3 separate regions of the Homo sapiens genome follow, and all the other regions are linked to region 3. The links are contacts of gene promoters, found by promoter capture Hi-C in human tissues and cell types (Jung and others, 2019). All regions are on one chromosome and are shown on one strand. Each heading gives the region's core, a stretch centred on a gene start or on the middle of the fragment in contact. The rest is flanking DNA. Distances are from core to core; before and after follow the strand shown. Region 1 has its middle 110 kb from the start of LSM14A. Region 2 overlaps LSM14A (LSM14A mRNA processing body assembly factor). Region 3 holds the start of KCTD15 (potassium channel tetramerization domain containing 15).

Region 1 (3,399 bases), core at 184-2,683, 270 kb before region 3:
TTATGCTACCATGTCTTGAAGTAGTGGGGTTTGTTCCAAGGGTGGTGGGAGGCCATTGCAGGGCTTCTGTGGGAGAATGATGATGTGATCTGATTATAAAAAGGATGCCGGGCGCAGTGACTCATGCCTGTAATCCGAGCACTTTAGGCTCTGAGGCGGGTGCATCACCTGAGGTTAGCAGTTTGAGACCAGCCTGGCCAACACGGTGAAACCCCGTCTCTACTAAAAATACAAAAATTAGCCGGGCGTGGTGGTGCACACCTGTAATCCCAGCTACCCAGGAGGCTGAGGCAGGATAATTGCTTGAACCCTGGAGACAGAGGTTCCAGTGAGCCAGATCGCGCCACTGTACTCCAACCTGGATGACAGAGTGAGACTCCATCTCAAAAACAAAACAAAACAAAACAAAACAAAAAAACACAGAAAAAGAAAAAACTCTGGCTGCTTTCTCGGAACCCCGGGGTGGTAAGTAGGGAGCAGGTGACGGTCATGAAGCTATTGTAGAGATCCAGGTGAGAGACAGTCGTGCCTGGAAGGGGATGATCTTTGTGGAGATGGTGATACATGGTGGGATTCAGGATTCGCTTTGAAGGTAGAGGTCATAGAGCTTGTTGATGAATTGGAGATGGGCTGTGATGGATGGCTCCCAGTGTTAAGTCTCATCAGTGAACGGGGAAGACTGGAGAAGTGGATTGGGAGCATCGAGCATTGTTTTAATCATATGGAATTTGAAATACCTATTAGGCATTATATTAGTCCATTTTGTGTTGCTATAAAGGAACATCTGAGACTAGGTAATTGATAAAGTGGTTTCTTGGGCTCACAGTTCTGCAGGCTGTACAAGCATGGCACAGCGTCTGCTTGGCTTCTGGTGGGGCCTCAGGAAGCTTCATGGTGGAAGAGAAGGGGAAGCATATGTGTCACATGGCAAGAGAGGGAGCAAGAGAGAGGGGAGGAGGCGCCAGGCTCCTTTAAACAATCAGCTCAATCCATTGGCACCTGCGTGTCTGCACATCAATGTGAACTAATAGAGTGAGAACTCACTCATTACAGCAAGGATAGGACCAAGCCATTTATGAGGGATCCACCCCCGCGACCCAAGCACCTCCCACCCAGCCCCACCTCCAACATGAGGGATCACATTTCAATATGAGGTTTGGAGGAGACACACATCCAAACCATATCACACATGCAAATGAAAATGCAGCATCCGTGGCTTGCTAAGCATGTGTGGAGCTCAGGGTGCCAGGAGGGGCTGGACAGATACATGCGCGGTACTCAGAGTAGAGGTGGCATGTAAAGCCACAGGTCCGGATGAAATCCGCCAGGTATTGGGGGATGACAAGAGGTCTTCAGACTGAGCCCTGGGGGAGCTCCAACAGTTAGAAGCCGCGAAGGGGAAGAGGATTCAGCAAGGAAAACAGAGAGGTAGAGGTCCTTGAAAACGGAAATAAAACCAGGTGAGTATGGTGAGCCAGCAGCCGCAGGGAGACAGTATTTTAAGAAGAAAGGAAAAATCACTGCATCAAATGTTCTGATAGACGGGATTGAGCTCTGAGGATAGACCCAAATCATCTAAACTCTTTGGTTACTTTTTATTTTTGATTTTCCTTATGTTGACACCTTAATTGTCGTCTCCTGCATCTGCTAATATTCTTGAGGTGGGGGAGGGAGTCAAAACCCATCCCTCCACTGCCATCCATTCTAAGTGTATCATTAGACCTAGAATGAAAAAGGTTAAGGAATTAAAAAGTGCTGGGGGCTTTGTATCTGTTGGTAGCCATTTAACCTACCCCATCGTGGCATCCTGGTGTCAAGCAGCTGTGTATATTTTTAAAAAAGCCCATCTGAATGCTCCAGAGGGCCTTTTATATCATGAGTGAGAACTGCCTGCAAGATCCTGATTGGCCCAGTTCCACAAAGAGGGCTCCAATAGGTTTTAAAACCTTCTGTCTCATTTCTTTGTGCATTTGTTATTAGCTCAATAAATAATAAATAGAGGAATTACCCAGTCACTAATTTGCTTTTTTATCAAGTAGAATTCATGTTTTAATAAATTGTCATTTTGTCTTATTGCACATGTGCCATAATATGCCTGTAATTCAAACATAAAACTATTTTTACTATAGTATTTGTTTCTTTACCCATACATATGTTCTTCAGCTATGGTTTCTGCGAGGATGTTTGTTCATTTATTGCTTTTCTTGTTCCATTCTAGTGATATGTTTGCTTTCTTCTGGAATTATTGCACTTAAAAAATTAATATTTATGTATTTTTCTCTGATCACAAGAGTAATAAACGATGCCCTTTTAAGATTCCTAAATTTACTTCCTTTTTTTTTTTTTTTATGAGTAATGTTCTTTTTGCCACTGTCATGTTTTTGGATAATGTTGTCTTTTGAATGACTACCTACATTTTGAAGAAGTGTTGAGTTGAGCCATATGAAATTGCTGATACTTGGCAATTTTTGACTACAGAAATGGTGATTTCAAATAGTTCAACCTCTTGTTTCCTTTAGTAATAATTCTACAACTTACTTATTTGCCCCCATCCCCCCTTTTCTTTTCTTTCTTTTTTTTTTTTTTTTGAGACAGGGTCTCACTGCATCACCCAGGCTAGAGTGCAGTGGTACGATCTTGGCTCACTGTAACCTCTGTCTCCTGGGCTCAAGCGATACTCTCACCTCAGCCTCCTGGGTAGCTGTGACTACAGGTTCTCGCCACCATAGCCAGCTAATTTTGTTTAATTTTTGTGGAGATGGAGTCTCACTATGTTGCTCAGGCTGGTCTTGAACTCCTATGCTCAAGCAATCCTCTTACCTCAGCTCCCAAAGTGCTGGGATTACAAGCATGAGCCACTGCGCCTGGCCCAGCTACATAATTTTTAGGGCCTACTATAAAATGAAAATGCGGGTCCTCTTGTTTAAAAGTTGTTAAGAATTTTAAGACGGACAACAGAGCCCTTTGAAGTGCCAGGCTGTGTGTGACCGTGCAGGTCACGCGTCCATGAAGCTGTTTCCAAGGTCAGGAATTGCAGACCTCGGAAGCCCTCACACTAAGGATGTGATGGACCTGCGTTCAATTCAGGGCTGCAGACCCCCAGGGCCGACTTGTCTAGCCACTCTGCAGCACTGTTGTAATCTCCTGACTGATCTCTCTGGTCTTGCTCTTCTCCATCCAATCAAGAGTGATATTTTTGTTTTTATTGTTTATTTATTTATTATATTTTTTTTCTTTGAGATGGAGTCTCTCTGTCTGTAACCTAGGCTGGAGTGTGGTGGCACAATCTTGGCTCACTGCAACCTCCACCTCCTGGATTCAAGTGATTCTCCTGCCTCAGCCTCTTGAGTAGCTGGGACTACTGGAGCATGCCAACACGCCTGGCTAATTTTTTTATAT
Region 2 (3,403 bases), core at 804-3,303, 430 kb before region 3:
TCTCACCTCAAAAAAGAATGGGCGGTGGGAGGGGGAAAACACCATACAACCAAACTTACCATAAGGTTATATTTCTTTCTTTTCTTTTTTTTTTTTGAGACAGGCCTCGCTCTGTCACCCAGGCTGGAGTGCAGTGGTGCGATCATGGCTCACTGCAGCCTTGACCTCCCAGGTTCAACTGATCCTCCTGCCTTAGCCTCCTGAGTAGCTGGGACTACAGGCATGTGCCACCACTCCAGCTAATTTTTAAACTTTTTTATAGAGATAGGGACTCCTTATGTTGCCCATGCTGTCCTTGAATTCCTGGGCTTAAGCAATCCTGCCCTGGCCTCCCAAAATGCTGGTATTACATGTGTACACCATTGCACTGGCCTATATTTACAATATTACCCTTAAGGAAAATCAGGCCACAAGTCAAGAGAGTGAGTTTTGGATTTGTTAGCTTGTACCTCAATCATGACAATTAACTTCTTGGGGTCCTTAGTTTCCTTATCATCTAATGTGAGTGTGGTAGCGTAGAGATTCTAGTTTGGCTGATTCTTTTAAGGATTCTAAAACTTTATGATTTTATCTTTACCCATGTTTTCATTAAACAACCAAGCTCATTTATGCTTACCCCCAAACCACAATGACTCATGCTAATATAGCACAAAAAATAAAGCCAACTCATTTCATGAAGGCTGCAGAAATGTCATCCATGTCCATCTCTGGGAGGAAGTGTTAGATGTTTCAGATACAAGTTTAATCTTCAGTGGTAAATCTCCTTTATGTGACAGTGATCACTCACCATTTTCTACCTTTAAAGGTGCCAGGTGAAATGATTTTATGATTTAGGAGGTGTAGGGCTGCTGGGTTCGGGGCTCTAGTGGCAGATGAAAGGATTATTCAACTCTGGAATGAACAATCAAAGGCTAGCTACATTGACAGACCTTTGGTCTCACTGAAGGCTGGAGTGGCAAATTCCTAATCAACATGACAAGCAATTACTTCAAGCCCACTATGGCTCCATGTTGAGCTGAGTGTTGTCATGGAAAGAAAAGTAGAATACATATTCACTAAAGCCAAGAGGTTCTCATCTAGCTGGTGATGCAGAACAAAACTAAATACAAAAAATAGGGAATGTCAGTGTATTTAAAATGTGTGCCAAAGAAAGCAGATAGCCACAGGTCAGAAGAGGAGGAAATCAGTGTAGGAAGGAAGAGAAGACAGAGCAAAACTTGGGCAAGGCTGTAAAGGATAAGTGAAAGGGGGGACCTGACTTTTAGCTATGTCTGTCTCCCACCAAAATGTAAACATCAAAAGGGCTGGGCCTACATCGGTCAGCACCAATGCTCAACATAGTGCCTGGCATATCTGAAGAATTCTGTATATTTGGTAAATGAATGGGGATGGAGTTGGAATCAAGCACAATGTGTATGTGAGATAACCATGAGGCAGCTTGCTTGAATCAGATAGGTTAAAGGGTAATGAGGAATGAGGCCAAATATATCAAGTGGGATCCTCACACAATTAAGAAGAGCAGGGACTACAATGTCACAACTGAGCCTCCTAAACACTGGGCCATGCCTGAGGGTTCGCTGAGTCCATCACTCCTGGCAACACCTAAGCAGAGGCTGGACTATCTGTCAAGGATACAGGAGCGTAGACAAAGATGCATGGAGGTAACTATGACAATGCATTTTCAATTCTGCAATATATGTGATACGAGTTTTACAAAAGGCTCAAAATGATAAACAGTGTGACATGGTGTCAAAAAAATGTTTGTATTAGTAACCACATGGAGCACACACAGTTACTGCATGGAAGGTTTGTTTTTTCCTTTTTTTGAGACGGAGTCTTGCTCTGTCGCCCAGGCTGGAGTACAGTGGCGTGATCTCGGCTCACTGCAACCTCTGCCTCCCAGGTTCAATGATTCTCCTGCCTCAGCCTCCCGAGTAGCTGGGATTACAGGTGTGTGCCACCACGCCCGGCTAATTTTTTTTATGTTTTTGGTAGAGACGGGGTTTCACCATGTTAGCCAGGCTGGTCTCGAACTCCTGACCTCAGGTGATCCGCCCACCTCAGCCTCCCAAAGTGCTGGGATTATAGGTGTGAGCCACCACGCCCAGCTGAGATTGTAACAGTTAGAACATCCCTGGGGTGGGATGGATGCCCTTGGGAAGAGTAAGCTCCCAGCCCCTATAAGAGATACTGCAGAAGAGGTTTATGTTTTAACCAGGTCAGACCTCTCAGATGTTTTCCAACTCTGAAAGTTTAATGATCTTTAAAAGGTGTTATTTCAGAATAAATGGTGCAACTCTTTATTCACAAATGTCAAAACCAAGGGTCTGAAAGGTCATACTAGTAACTACTGCTATTATTCTCATCTGGATCCAAGTCTAATTTAAATGTACTTTTTCTCAGACCAAGCTGACTCAATGTGGTCTTCAACAAGGAGTTGTCACAGGTTGTTCAAAATGTAGCTGATCTGCCTTAAAGTGGGGTAAAGAGAGACGAAGGTCTGAAGCCCAACTGGTGGGTTACCATGGTAGTTGACAGGGACATCTCAAAGGAATAAATGGCAACAGGCCACAATCATGGATACCTCTAGTGCCTGGGCAGTATACCATGAGCCAACATGGAACACTGGGAGGAGGCAGAGCTGAGATGACAGGAGAGAAGGAAGATGATGAGATCAGTCTGAGGAAGGTTAAGCTGACAGCAAACAGTGCAGATAGAGATGCGGTGCAGAAACACATAGGGTCCAGGACAGGCTTACAAAAGGGAGGATGGAACAAGCACCATGGCACACCTATAAACCCAGCACTTTGGGAAGCTGAGGTGAGAGGATCGCTTAAGCCCAGGAGTTCAAGACCAGCCTGGACAACATAGTGAGAGTGGGACCCAGTGTCTACAAAAAAAATTAAAAATTAGCTGGGCATGGTGGTGCATGCCTGTAGTCCCAGCTACATAGGAGGCTGAGGTGGGAGGACTGCCTGAGCCTGGGAGGTTGAGGCTGCAGTGACTTATGATCATGCCATTGCACTCCAGTCTGGGTGACACAGCAAGACCCTGACACCCTCCACCCCCCAAAAAAAAGAATGAAGAGTATTAAAAAATTAGGAAGAGTATAAATTGAAAACCTAGAAGAGTATTTTAAAGACTAGGAAGAAAGACCCCAAATTGGGTGGTTGGTCAGTGTCAAATATTGCAGAGGAGTTAATGGCAAATAAAATATTTGTGAAAATACTACTGCTGAATTCTGTAAGCAAGGTGTCACTGGCAAACTTAAGGGCAGTAACAGTGATAAGCGAGGGCTATTCTGGAGTTCCTAAGACAGATTCTCCTAGCTGGGAAGGTGATTTTGCAAGTCAGAAGTCCCGCAACTACATAAGGCCACCAACGGCTGGATGGCATAAGCTGG
Region 3 (3,159 bases), core at 19-2,518:
AGAGGCAGGCGGGCCACCTGGTGCGCGCCAGCCTCCCCACCCCCCCCCTCCCGCCTCCGCCGCGGAGCCAGCCGGCCGGTGTGAACTTAGGGGCGACGGGAGAGGGCTTGGGCCAAGGCTGGAGGCGCCGCGGGGCGGGGTGGCCGCGGCACCCGAAGCGCGGGGCTGGGCTGGGAGGGGTTGCCGCGGAGGCGGGGCGGGGACAAAGTTAAATCAAGAGGCAGACACTTGGAGACCACAGATGGGAAGCTCGCCTAATTAAGGACGTAAAAGCGCTTTTGTTCTCAAAGTTTATTGTTGCCGGGATTAAAAAAAAATTAATTGAAACTAATGCTGTTATTCACTCGTGCAGTTAAATTCCTTCATGCACATTTGAGATACGGAGCGAAAACTTGAAGCTTATCTTTCTGCAGTCGCGGGTGGGGGCCGCCGGAAGACAGAAAGGCGCTGCAGAGGCGGGGGTCCGCCCCCGGGTGTGTTTGCGAGTGTGTGCCGGGTGCGCGCGTCCAGGTCAGGGGGTGCGGGCGGGCAGCGGGGAACCGGATCTGCAGGCGGCGATCCCTCCCATCGCGGCCCCTCTCCCAGCCCCAAACCCTGCGCGCCCGGGACCACCACCAGCGCGACAGCCCCTCCTGCCAGGTTTCGGACTCGTGGGGTGGGCGTCAGAGGACGCACATCTGTCCCACTGGAGACTTTCTCTGATTTTGGGCGCCAAGCCGGGACTTGTGCATCCCGAAGCCCCAGTTGCGTGAGCCCGTTTCTGACCCCGGAAACTCGCCAGCTCTGCAGGGCGCTCGGCCCAGAACAGGGGCCAGAGTGCGGGGACCTCCACAAGCGCGCGCGCGCGCGCGCGCACACACACACACACACACACACACACACACACACACCGCGCGGCAGGAAGCTCCGAGACCGCCCGCGTGGGGAGGGTCCACCCGCGGCCAGGACCAGCCCACGTGGGCAACCCCACTCTTGCACCAGGCCTTTGTGCTGGGCACCCCCGCGCCGCCAGCCCCCGCCGCCCAGCAGAGGGACAAAGCGGCCGCCCCCGCCCAGGTCCAGACCCTGGCCGGGCGACTTTCTCGGTATCGCAGCCACTTCGGGGCAGGGTTGCGCGGCTCTGAGCGGTGGCCGCCCGCGCTGAGCTTACCTCGGAGCCGGCAGATCGGGCTCGGGCGCAGCCCCCGCCCCACGCAGCTGCCGGTCTCGGGCGCCGGGCGCAGCTTCGCCGCCTATGCTCGCTGCGCGGGTCGCTCCGGTCTCGTCCTGGAGTTACTTTCTCTCTCGCCCCCAACCCTCCCCCCACCCACCCCTCCCGCCCCGGCCCCCGCTTCACGCGGCCCCTCGCGGCGCGGCGCGCCGGGGCCTCCCCTCCCCACCCTCCCCTCGCCTCCTCCCCTCTTCGCGGCCGCCGCCTCCGCCGCCGCCGCCTCCTCCTCGCGCCGCTCTCCGGCTGCCCTCCCGCCGCTCCCACCTCCTCTCCTCCCTCCTCTCTCTCCGGCGGCCTCCCTCGATTGCTGGAGAGAAAACCAGCCCCCCACTCCAGCCCCTAGCCAGCGCCTCGCCGCGGCCCAGCCCGGACGTAAAGGGCAGCGATCCGGCCCCAAATTACCCAGCGCGAACGGGCGCGCGCGGCGACTCCTGGCTCGGGGCTCGGCTGCGCCGCGGGGCAGAGGATTAGAGTCGCAATTAGCTCCGCGCGCCCGCGCCTGGCGACAAAAACGCGCCGTTTCCCCTCCTTTCGCCGGGCGATCCCCACCCGCCTCTCCCGAAGCCCGCGCCTTCCCGCCGGGGCCGCGGCCAGGACCCTCCCGGGAGCGGTGCGCCCAGGCCCCAGCGCCCTCCGCGGCCCAGCCCCCCGCCCCCCGCCGGCCGGCCACGCGGCGCCCGGGCCTCCTCCGGGCTCGGGGAGGGGGCGGGGGAGAGGCTGATTTTAATCATTGTCATTTCATCTGATGTAATATTTCCCCGGGCGCTTTCAGCTGGGCATAAATTTTCGGCTCCCAAATAAGTAACACAGGGCACGTTTCTCACATTTCTTGACTCCTCGGTTACAAAGAGGAGAGCAGCCGCCGCCGCGGCGCCCGGGGCTGGGGGCGGGACTTGGGAAGAAACTGGGCTGCCAGTCGGTCGGGGCTGGAGCGGAGCCGGGGGCCAGGCCGCCCCTCCCCCGCTCCCTGGCCGCCCTCCCAGGGTCTCTGCCCCGCTGCCCCTCTCCCGTGACGTCTGCGGACACGCGGTCGGCCGCCGCGGGGGAGGGACGCGCTGGGGCACCGGGCCGACCGCTCGCGGCTAGACGCGCCATTTCCTTTACGCGCGCGGCGCGATGGAGACGGCGGCAGCCAAGACTCCCCGCGGCCGAGGTCCGCGCCCCGGACGCCCCTCCCCAGTCTCCGCTTCGGCCGCCCCTTCCTCCTTTTCTCCCACTCCCACTCCTCCTCCCCTTCCTCTTCCTCCTGTTTCCTTTGCGCCCCGCCCGTGCCTCCTCCTCCTCCTCGGCGACCATTTCCCGGCTCCTAGGAAACGGAGCGCGCGACTGGCCGGCACTGCGCCCCCGCCTGGCTCCAGGGACGCCCGGGCCGGAGACCGGCTGGGACCGCGGGGCGGGTGCGCACGGGCCGGAACGGCGCCTGGGTCCCGACCGCCGGCTCCGGCCGGGCCTGGACGCCCCCTAGCGGCCGCACTCCCGGGGTGGGGGGCGCTCGGGGTCGGCCTGGAGCTGGGGTGAGGGGGACTCGGGGTGCCAGTGGGAGGAAGGTGAAGTGGGGGGGGCTTTCTCCCTCTACTAGAGGACCTCGCGCGCGTGGAGAGAGCGTCCAGACAGCGCTTCCGTAACTTCTTTACGCGGGAATCAGCCGAAACTTTCCTCCTAAGGGAAGGTTTTATTTATTTATTTATTTTCGAGTTCGAACTACAGGAAAAAGGGGGAAATTTTCTCATTAAAGTTACATCCCTGCAGTTAGTTCAATTATTTGATATATGCAGAAGATGTTGTAAATTTATAGATTTAAATAGCTTACAAAGATGCCGCAGGCCCCATCAGTTAATTTCCTTAATTTATGGATTTTGAGCTGCTCCTGGAACAGAAAGAAGCCCTGGAAGTAGGTCAGGGATCTGTGCAGGGGTTGGGAGGGGCTCCCGCGAGGCCCAAGGGCTGCC

What was found. Contacts are between HindIII fragments. The study calls those that stand out against the background at their distance.
Region 1: a contact is called between a fragment that was not itself captured here and the fragment with the promoter of KCTD15 in region 3, in 1 of the 25 tissues and cell types used here (lymphoblastoid cells).
Region 2: a contact is called between a fragment that was not itself captured here and the fragment with the promoter of KCTD15 in region 3, in 1 of the 25 tissues and cell types used here (aorta).

What each region holds. Positions count from the first base shown.
Region 1 is chr19:34,064,166-34,067,564 of GRCh38, reverse strand. No RefSeq gene overlaps it. Among named protein-coding and RNA genes, the nearest start is that of LSM14A, 110 kb to the left of the region's middle. The HindIII fragment of the contact is 4,946 bases long and covers 1-3,399 here.
Region 2 is chr19:34,222,754-34,226,156 of GRCh38, reverse strand. All of the region lies in intron 9 of LSM14A (LSM14A mRNA processing body assembly factor), which reads right to left. Among named protein-coding and RNA genes, the nearest start is that of GARRE1, 30 kb to the left of the region's middle. RefSeq lists an enhancer at 818-1,383. The HindIII fragment of the contact is 6,610 bases long and covers 1-3,403 here.
Region 3 is chr19:33,794,979-33,798,137 of GRCh38, reverse strand. KCTD15 (potassium channel tetramerization domain containing 15) reads right to left here and starts at 1,268. Exons shown (of 7, transcript NM_001129994.2): 1 at 1,151-1,268. RefSeq lists a silencer at 2,570-2,689. The HindIII fragment of the contact is 17,228 bases long and covers 1-3,159 here.